Regions from separate parts of the Homo sapiens genome. Here region 1 is linked to region 2. Evidence: promoter capture Hi-C in 16 types of primary human blood cells and fetal thymus (Javierre and others, 2016). All regions are on one chromosome and are shown on one strand. The core of a region is centred on a gene start or on the middle of the fragment in contact, and the rest is flanking DNA. Distances in the headings are between cores, read along the strand shown.

Region 1 (5,256 bases), core at 1,859-4,358, 290 kb after region 2:
TTTTTTTAAATGATGTCAGAGAAATGGGGAAAAATGCTTAGATCTAACTAGATATTTATTATATTATTCCCAGAGGGCATAAAGGTAAAATGGCACAATGGATGAACTGCACACATTCAGGGGCCAGACTGGTTTAGATTCAGTTTTGACTTAGTAAACTGCTATAGAAATTGCATAAATTACTCAGTCTCTCTGTGACTCAGTTTTTCTCAACTATAAAATAGGGATCATAATAATACTTATTGACAGTATTGTGAAGATTGCATTACTTAGTTTATGGAAAGTATTGGAATAATGTTTGGTATATAATAAGCATTTGATAAGTATTAATTATTTTAGTAGTAGTTTTACATATTTCATAAGCTTTTCTCAAGAAAGTGAAAGCATATATATATACCCAATCCCAAAACTATAGATCCACAGTCATTTATTTGAAGCTCTTGGGGAAGATAAGTTTCATAATTCAGAATTTGGGGTTGTATATTATACAACACTAGTGGGGTCTAGGGGAGACCTCCCTAATGAAACACATTATTATTTTTGCATTGAAAATTATGAATATTCACTAAGTGGGATAAATAAACACTCTAAATAGCTTCATGTCAGTTCAGATCAGGTTTTACCACCAGACGAATTTGCTGTAAATGTACCAAAAACATTCAGTTTTCAGAATGTTTTGGATCTAAAATTGCATATAAGGGATTGTAGATCTGTACTTCAATGCATCTACCTGATGAATACTAGTTTGTCCTTACAAAGAATGAGATAGACCTATACATACTGAAATGGAAAGGTATATTGTTAAGTAATAATACTATATATGTTATAGTAGTTGGCAACTGACCGAACAGTACATATTGCCTTATCTTTGTCATATTTATAAAAACAGACATCTGTATTTTCATACATATATATGATAAATGTATTGAAAATAGACTGGAAAGATACCTGCCAAACAGTTGAGAGTGGTCACCTCTGGAGAGGGGATGGGGAAGGCTAAAGGCGAGCTGCCACCTTTTTCTCTGTATACTTCTGAATTTGTCTTCTATGAGAAGGTGTTCACACATATCTAGGTAATAAAAATGAAAAGGCCAGGTGCGGTGGCTCATGCCTGTAATCCCTGCACTTTGGAAGGCTGAGGTGGGATCACAAGGTCAGGAGTTCGAGACCAGCCTGGTCAATATGGTGAAACCCCATCTCAGCTAAAAATACAAAAAAAATAGCCAGGTGTGGTGGCGGGCACCTGTAGTCCCAGCTACTCAAGAGGCTGAGACAGGAGAATCGCTTGAACCCAGGAGGCAGAGGTTGCAGTGAGCCAAGATCACACCACTGCACTCCAGCCTGGGTGACAAAGCAAGACTCCATCTCCGAAAAGAAAAAAAAAACTGCTTAGAAAAACGAAATCAGGGAAGTGTTGTGGAGAGCCTGAGAAGTCTGTATTTAAATCTAAACTTGAGGAGCTATGGATATGTTTGAACTAAGTAGTAACAGCAGCCTCAGGAGAAAAAGTAGTTGGAACAATATGGTTTGGATTTACCTATCGAAAGAAGCGATATTGAGGATCAGTCTGAGTAAATTTTCCACTTGAGTTCCAGCTTCAGAATCAGCATAGTACTCTGAATTATTTCCCCAGTGCAACTGGGGAATAATGAAGTACCCAGGAGATGTTCTGTGGTGACAACAGAAATGAACCTAAAGGGCTTCTTAGCCTCTACCAGAGACCAGGAATGTTGCTGTGTCGCAGAAGGCAGGAGAAGAGAGGATTTCACCGAGGAACAGCAGGGTCAAGCGGGGCTTGCATTTGTGCCTCTGCCCAGTATATTCTCCACGCAGCAGTCAGGGGCATCTTTTAAAAGCACAAGCCTGGTTGTGCTACTACTTCAGTGGCTTCCCTAGAATATTCCTAAGTAGAGCTGGTGAGAAAGGGCCCTTGGTTCCTTTCTGGTTATAAGCCTAGAGTTCCTTGGGGTCATTTTTTCCTTCCATTCTCCTGCTGGAAAAAGGTGGCTTGAGAAAGAGATGCTGACAAAGCAGAGCAGTAGAGATGGAAAACAGAAAGGGAGGGCTAAGAGTATTTGAGTCCCTAAATCCAGTCTTACCTTGAGGCCCAGCTGGCTATCATTCTTTCTGAATTTGGCTACCATGTTTTTGCCCATGCTAGTTTGAGTTGGATTTTTTTCACTTGGAACCCAAAGACTCCTGAATAAAACCCTCCTCTTCAGTGCTGGATTCCCTGGAACGTTTAACTGGGACTCAAATTTGATCTGCGTTAGCAGTACACTTGAACTGTTGTACTGGTGAGGTTGTTGAGCCTAACAGTCTCTAGTCTCTGCCTTATGCAAACAAAGAATGCTACATAGCTGAAGGGAAAGGAGTGGGAGTGACTCCAGGAGTCATCACGTTTAAATCTGAATAGGTGTTGGCTGGGCACAGTGGCTCACGCCTGTAATCCCAGCACTTTGGGAGGCCGAGGTGGGTGGATCACCTGAGGTCAGTAGTTCGAGACTAGCCTGATCAATAGGGTGAAACCTCGTCTCTACTAAAAATACAAAAATTAGTTGGTCATGGTGGCTCATGCCTGTAATCCCAGCTACTTGGGAGGCTGAAGCAGGAGAATCACTTGAACCGGGGAGGCAGAGATTTCAGTGAGCTGAGATGGTGCCACTGCACTCCAGCCTCTGTCTTAACAAAAAAAACAACAAAAAAGTCTTTCTTATTTTACTGTATTTTTTCTTTTCTTTCTTTCTTTCTTTCTTTCTTTTTTTTTTTTTGAGACGGAGTCTCGCTCTCTCACCCAGGCTGGAGTGCAGTGGTGCGATCTCAGCTCACTGCAAGCTCCACCTCCCGGGTTCACGCCATTCTCCTGCCTCAGCCTCCCAAGTAGCTGGGACTACAGGCGCCCACCACCACGCCCAATTTTTTGTATTTTTAGTAGAGATGGGGTTTCATCGTATTAGCCGGCATGGTCTCGATCTCCTGACCTCGTGATTTGCCCACCTCTGCCTCCCAAAGTGCTGGGATTACAGGCGTGAGCCACCGCGCCCGAACATTTTACTGTATTTTTTTCAAAGTCTCTTGTTGGTAGTGATCTGATTCTTATCAAACTTTTTCATTGTTAACTCTACTAGTACTATTCAATTTGAATACACTCAAAACAGAGGCCACTCAATTTTATAAAAGGAAACCTTCTAGTTCTCAAAATTCCATTTTAATTTATGGTGGTTTGCTGTACTGTTCTTGTCTTTGCGTTATGCTCATTCTTAAAAAACTGTTTGTCTGGGTTTCTAGGTCAGAATTTTACATGTAGAGCAAATGGTCTTTATGCACATTTACTGTATTATTTGTTGAAGATGAAGTATGCGAAGATTTTCAAAGGATTGGGGGTAAATTTTACTCAATTTAAAGGTCAGAGGTTTACAATCATATGCTAAGCTATAGTGCATTTATAACTTTTATATCATTGTGTGTGTGTGTGTGTGTGTGTGTGTGTGTAAAATCACTGCATAAGGTCACCTTATGATAATTAGAATTTCTCTATTTCTGGTAGTTGTACTGTCTGAGTAATTCAAGCTGGAATTCTTTATTTGTCCCAAATTTGATATATAGATTTTGGTACTTGTTTATTGCCGCTCACTGTAGAAGTCCTGCATATTTAAGTAATACCTTGGTGCCAAGATTTTGGGAGCATCTAGATCATCTGGGAACTTTTGCAATTCTTATGAGTGGGTGTTAACATGTCACAAGATGCCAACATCCTATATGAAGGTAAAATAATCAGGTGAGACCCTGGAGGTGAAGCTCAAATTTGTGGATGACTCTGTGTGTGTGTGTGTGTGTGTGTGTGTGTGTGTATGTGTGTGGTGTCCAGGGAGGCCACAACTAGTAAGGGGAAAGGAAACCCAGAAGTGGTAACAACATTGGTCATTGTGTGGAATGATCTTGTGCAGAAATCTGGCAAGAAAAATATGACTGTAGCCTTTATTGACCTGCTATTGGCCTGTCACTCTAAGTAGCACGAGTTCAGTAGAGACACTGCATTATTGATGCTCCTACAAAACTTGCATTTTAATGCCCCTCAAGAATTCAGGATTGATAGAAATAGTGTTATAGCTTAATCAACTGAAACTGTAGATAAAAATAGATGGCTGCTGTCCTGGAACAGGAGGGTAAATGTCCTCCTGGGTGCTGATGAAATGGTTTTAATGTCATGGCCCAAGAATGTCCCTAGTAATTGGTTCTGAGTAATTAACCATTGTCAGTACTTTTAATGCAAAGTCTTCCAAAGATAATATCATAATTATTGGCAGATATTTCCCCAAATTCATTTGACTTAAATAACAAAATCCCCCACAAAACAACAATCACAACAAAACAGAACCCAAATCCATCTAACAAGTACAGTCATTCAATTTCCTTGAGACTCATTCATCCTGTCAAATCCACTGGAAAGCCATAGGATTTGTTGATATATTATTGAGAGTTTTAAATACCATTGGGGTAAATGTTGATATTTGCTTTGGATATTTTTTAGTTCATAGTAATCTCAACCATGCTTTATGGTATATAACTTTGTGCAGAGAGATTCAGCCCACTTCCTGAAGAAAAAAATTAACCTTGCCAGCAGATTAATTTCTATGTGGATCCTGGTTAGGCACCTCAATTTTAAAAATAGGGCAACAACATCACTACCTGTGCAAGTATGTTCTCACACAGCACTGGAGATGGTTCTTACTGGTTTGTTAGACTGTGTGCACCTTTCTCCACATCCATGTTCACTGATGTCAAGTTACTAGCTTGAAATTGGTTATAGCAGGAGTATTTACACCAGTGATTCTCAATGAGAAAGATTTTGCCCCCTAGGGCACATTTGACAATCTCTAGAGACATATTAATATTTTGTTGTCATAACTGGGGGGTTGCTACTGACATCTAGTGGGTAGAAGCCAGGGATGCTACTCAATATTCTTTAAAGGCCAGTGCTTCGTAAGAATTATCTGGCTCCAGGCCAGGTGCTGTGGCTCACACCTGTAATCCCAGCACTTTGGGAGGCCGAGGTGGGCGGATCACAAGGTCAGGAGATGGAGACCATCTTGGCCAACATGGTGAAACCCTGGCTCTACTAAAAATACAAAAATTAGCTGGACGTGGTGGCGTATCCCTGTAATCCTAGCTACTCGGGAGACTGAGGCAAGAGAATCACTTGAACCGGGGAGTCAGAGGCTGCAGTGAGCCGGTATCACACCACTGTACTCCAGC
Region 2 (5,458 bases), core at 2,226-4,725:
ATTAACACTGAAGTCCAAGTTATTTTCACAAACAAAAAAGCAGCTGGTCAAGCTAATCCATTTGTTGACTAGCCACCATGAAGCTTCTGTAAGACTGCCTAGTTAAGTTAACCTCTACTGTCAGACTGCATGACTCAGAACTTCCAAACCTCTTTCTATTAGAATGTAACAACTCTTCTCTGGAACCACCATGTGAATCGTTTCTTACAGATATAATAGCAGAAAAGATGCTTTAAAAGTAAAAATGTCGGGCCGGGCGCGGTGGCCCACGCCTGTAATCCCAGCACTTTGGGAGGCCGAGGCGGGCGGATCACGGGGTCAGAAGATAGAGACCATCCTGGCTAACATGATGAAACCCCGTCTCTACTAAAAATACAAAAAATTAGCCAGGCGTGGTGGCGGGAGCCTGTAGTCCCAGCTACTCGGGAGGCTGAGGCAGGAGAATGGCGTGAACCTGGGAGGTGGAGCTTGCAGTGAGCCAAGATCGCGCCACTGCACTACTCCAGCCTGGGCCACAGAGCGAGACTTCGTCTCAAAAAAAAGGAAAAATGTCTACACTTAATTTTAAAAGGAGAAAGTTACTTTGAAGTTAGGATTATTAAATTAATAACAGTAGCTAACAGTATTTTTGTATGCTAGGCACTGTTTAGTGGGTTTTAAAAATGAATGCAAGACCGGGCACAGTGGCTCAAGCCTGTAATCGCAGCGCTTTGTGAGGCCAAGGCTGGCGGATCACCTGAGTGAGGTCAGGAGTTTGAGACCAGCTGGCCATCATGGTAAAACCCCGTCTCTACTAAAAATACAAAAATTAGCCAGGGGTGGTGGCAGGCGCCTGTAATCCCAGCTACTCAGGAGGCTGAGGCAGGAGAATCTCTTCAACCCAGGAGGCGGAGGTTGCAGTAAGCCAAGATTGCACCGTTGCACTCCAGCCTGGGCGACAAGAGCAAAACTCCGTCTCAAAAAAAAAAAAAAAAGAACACAATCCTCACAATAATCTTGTGAGAGAATTACAATTATTGTTATCTCTGTTTTACAGATGAAGAAATGGAGACAGAGCAAACTATCCCAGCTCATACAGCTTATAAATAGTAGAACTGGAGACTTGGCTCCAGAGCCATCCTCTTACTAATGTAAAGCCCAAATCCCAATGCCTAACAAACATTCAGGTATATATTCAGGCCTTCCTCACACTTTGCAGTACCTATTTTTCTTATACTCTACTGACTGAGGTACTACCCCTACTACTATTTTCAATGTACATTCCATAACAGAAAATAGTATCTAAAAATCATGTCTGGGGTGTACTACTGTCTTATTTAAAGAGAACAATATCCAGCTTAGATCATTACTATTTGAGGCTTGTGATTCTGCAGGAATTCATACGAGAAAAGGAAGCTCAGGTTCAGAGCACTGAACTGGTTATACACATTAATCCCGGACATTCTTTTTACAGCTATAAACCAAAGGGTGTTTGTTTTTTCATTAGAAAGATTTGGTACCACCAATGAAATTCAACATATTTTCTAATATTGAGAAGTTGATTCTCAAAGATATCACAAATAAGATACATTACTACTACTACTAAGAAAGAGAAGCTAATTCTTTGCTACCTCTCAGGAAACTGCACGTGGTAACCTGTAGGTACCCTAACACATCATTCGAAATGAGAACAAATAGGTTCAAATCTTAGCCTTAGGGCTAGTAGCATGACCTTCCAGGAGTCACAACTCATTAAAGTAAGGAATAATGCATCCCTGATAAAGTATGATGATCAATATTAAAACACATTTTTTTGTATTTTATGGGACACAGTATTTTAGTGGTCATACTTTGTAAACTTTAAAATGCTGTGTTTTCAGAACAAACTATTTTATCAGATTTTTACTATGACACTATAAAATACTCTTACTTCTACTGCATAGATGAGGAAACAGATTAATCACAGTTAAGTGACTTGCTCCTTATCACAGAGCTAGTAAATAGCATCCTGGAACCCATGTCTCCGGACTTTGCTCCTTCACTTGACCTCTGCTAATGTCCATTCAAATATCATTTCTTTTATCTAATAAGCTGAGAGATGTTTTACAAATTTAGGCAGAGACAATATTTTAAACCTATACATACTCAAAATACACAAAATCTAATTTTTAAAAAATGCCTTAAGAATAGTCATGCATTCCAAGGTGAGTTTCAAGACCAACACATACAATGAAATCATATGCATATTTGTTAAATACTGTAATAGTCAATGCTCAACACATCATTATTCTCTCATGCCCTCAGTGAAGTGATCCTCAAGAAGGTGAATGTAGACAAAATTGTAGAAAACGTTGTTCTAAGTCTTTCCCGTGCTTTCTAATAATAGAAAAGAATAGTCTCTTAGATATGTCTTTGTTTTCCCTGCTACATTATTAATACTCCTTGTTTTTTCTTTCCTACCCTGTACTATATTTCAATTACGTTATAGTCTAACAAAGAGAACAGGGTGGTTATTTTCATATGGAGATTATGACTGAATAATTCACTTCTAACTGTATTCAAGACATTGGCTTTGTTCTCCAAATACTTCTGAATTGAACCTTTACGATTATATAACCTTTCCTCAACTGTTCGGAAAGTATAAAACATTCCACAACGACCCCTAAGTAACTGTGCCCAGCAACACCAACTGGTCAGAGAGTGGGAAGGCTGCCCTAACAATTGAAGTCTTTTCCCTCCATTCAACGAACACTAAACACTAAGATCTACTTAGGAAAAGTCATGGGAAGGGGAGCGGTGGGCGGTACAAAGGAGATTCGGTCCCTGACCTAAAGAGCGTGGTGCTGAGACGAGACTTGGTCGAGGAGAAAGCCCCAGCTTTCGGCGTCAGCAGGGAGACACCAAAAAGGCTGTGCCTCGGTTTCCTCACCTGCTGAGGAGGGATACACCCCCACCAGCACGCTCGCAGTCTGCAGGCATGAAAACCGGCCTAAAGCGCTGCAGAGTGGCTGATTTTAAAAGGGGGATGGCTCCGTTTCTCCTCCAGAGTCAGGGCCCCGGACAGCGCGCAGAGCAGAGGCCAGCCCGAGTCACCGGGCGCGGTCCCCGCATCCGTGTGGGCGCCTCTTAGCTCCCGCCCAGAGAGCGGCCGGGCGGCCTTGCCCTCCGCAGCAGCAGCCCGGACGCCCGGCCAGGCCCACCCCGCGCACCCACAGCCCACGGGCCCAGGCGCCCCGCCCACCCTGTGCCGGCCCGGCTTGTCTCGGTAGCCCCGGGCTCCCCTCCCCCGCTTACTTTCTGGGAGTCCATGGCGAGTGGCTAAGCCCACTGGGCTCGAACCCGAGACGACGAACCGTGTGAGGAGGCTCAGCGAGATCGCACACCCCAAGACCGCTACTCACTGCACTGCCCCAGCCCGCACCGGCACCGCCCGGCCCCACCCGTCCGCGCCCAGACCGCGCGCGCCGTAGTCACGCCGCGGTTGCCAGGGTGAAAGGGCGGCCCGCAGAAGGGAGGGGCTGAGGAGCGCACCGCGCCTGCGCGCAGCGGCTGACTGCTCCCGGGAAGTAGCCGTGGAGGGTGGGGAGCGCCGCCCGTCTGTCTACCGCTAGTGCCTCTGCAGGCTGCACTCCCTTCCCCCATCCTTTTTCCTCCAGCGATAGCGGTCTCTCCGGCCCTGAAATAGGCCACTGGGCATCCAGCAGCCGGCCGGTGCGGAGGGCCCGGGAAGGAAAGAGTATCTGGTGCTGGAGACGGATTAGCCCACCCTCCACCCAGCACGCATCTGAAGCCCCTCCCCACACTATCCTTCGAGGGGCAGCCAGGCTTGAGCGGACCCAGCGGTCCAAAGGGAGGAAAAGGGCTGGGGTGGGGATGTAGCGAAAACGTGGGAAAAGACCTTTAGGGGATGTGGTGGAAACGTGGGAGGAGGGATATAGGGATGAGAGTGGCGGAAACGTGGGTGTGGGATTAATATGAGCTTTGGGGCCTGGCACAGTTTTTCCCGGGGACCCACCCATCCTCCCCGGCACCTCGCTACCTGTATGATTTTGAGCAAGTCAGTCTGCCTGAGCTTGTTTCATCTGTAAAATGAGAGAAATAATGCGGACTTTGCAGAGGATTGTGAGGATTAAATAACGTATGGTACATAATTAGTAGTGAATAAATTATAGTCATTCTCTTTTTTTTTTTTTTTTTTTTTTTTTGGAGATGGAGTCTCGGTCTGTCACCGAGGCTGGAGTGCAGTGGTGCCATCTTGGCTCACTGCAACCTCTGCCTCCCGGGTTCCAGGAATTCTCGTGCCTCAGCCTCATGAGTAGCTGGGATTACAGGCGCCCCCACCACACCTGGCTAATTTTTTGTACTTTTAGCGGAGACTGGTTCTAGCCATGTTGCTTAGGATGGTCTCGAACTCCTAAGCTCAGGCAGTCCGCCCACCTCAGCCTCCCAAATTGCTAGGATTACAGGTGTGGGTTACAGGGCATGTGCCAGGCCCATTATAGTCATTCTTAGTGGGGAGTTAGAACCTGCTCGGTGTGGCCTGAGGCATCAATGAAGATTTTAGAAAGCTTGGAATTTAGTAGGCTTGAGAAAGTTCTTCCTCAAGCAGACAGGCCTCATCTTCCATTTGGATGACTCTGGAGAGGCTCACAAAAGTTCAATTAGACAGTCATTTATGATGAATGAATAAAAGGGAAATACATATTGAGTACCTATTCTGTACCAGTTCTACAAACAAAATTCAGTAGTGGGCAAGGCCCTGTTTCTCTCACAGAGCTTACAATCTAGTATAGAAGACCAACCAAAAAAAAAAAAAAAGTTAACGTGCTAGACGGTTATAGGTGCTAAAATTAAAACTTAGGCCAGGCATGGTGGCTCACACCTGTAATCCCAACACTTTGGGAGGCCCAATGAGTGGATCACTTGAGTCCAGGAGTTCGAGACCAGCCTGGGCAACATGGCAAAACCCCATCTCTACAGAAATTAAAAAAAAAAAAATTAGCCAGACGTGGTGCTGCAAGCCTGTAGCCAGAGCCAATCAGGAGGCTGAAGCGGGAGGATCACTTGAGTCCTGGAGGCAGAGGTTGCAGTGAGCCTAGATCACACCACTGCACTCCAGCCTGGGCAACAGGGTGAGACCCCAGCTCCTAAATAAATAAATAAGGCAAATGGATTCAGAGAATTGGGAGGGTTTAATTTTTCATAGAAATGTCAGGGAAGATCTCTCTTGGAAATGACCTGAGTATAAAGTGAGAAGAGGAATTGTACAAGGATCTAGGGAAGAACATTCTAGAAAGTAGGAACAACAAATACAAAGGCCTTGTGGAGAGAAGGAGCTCTGTGTTTGAGAAACAGCATTTATTCTACAATGTTGTCATTACATCTCCACATGGATCCCCCTGACTGTACTGTGATTTTTTTTTTGAGGGCTGAATTTCTTTTACCCCATATCTGTATCCCCAGCTCAGAGTCTGCCACA

What was found. Contacts are between HindIII fragments. The CHiCAGO score rates a contact against its expected background, and 5 or more counts as called.
Region 1: a contact is called between a fragment that was not itself captured here and the fragment with the promoter of FSD1L in region 2, in 1 of 17 cell types (M0 macrophages). The highest score is 7.0, in M0 macrophages.

Annotation. Positions count from the first base shown.
Region 1 is chr9:105,159,548-105,164,803 of GRCh38, reverse strand. No RefSeq gene overlaps it. Among named protein-coding and RNA genes, the nearest start is that of SLC44A1, 82 kb to the left of the region's middle. The HindIII fragment of the contact is 5,486 bases long and covers 366-5,256 here.
Region 2 is chr9:105,446,051-105,451,508 of GRCh38, reverse strand. It overlaps FSD1L (fibronectin type III and SPRY domain containing 1 like), which reads right to left and starts at 3,475. Exons shown (of 14, transcript NM_001145313.3): 1 at 3,274-3,475. The coding sequence starts at 3,288. RefSeq lists a silencer at 2,985-3,594. The HindIII fragment of the contact is 4,464 bases long and covers 86-4,549 here.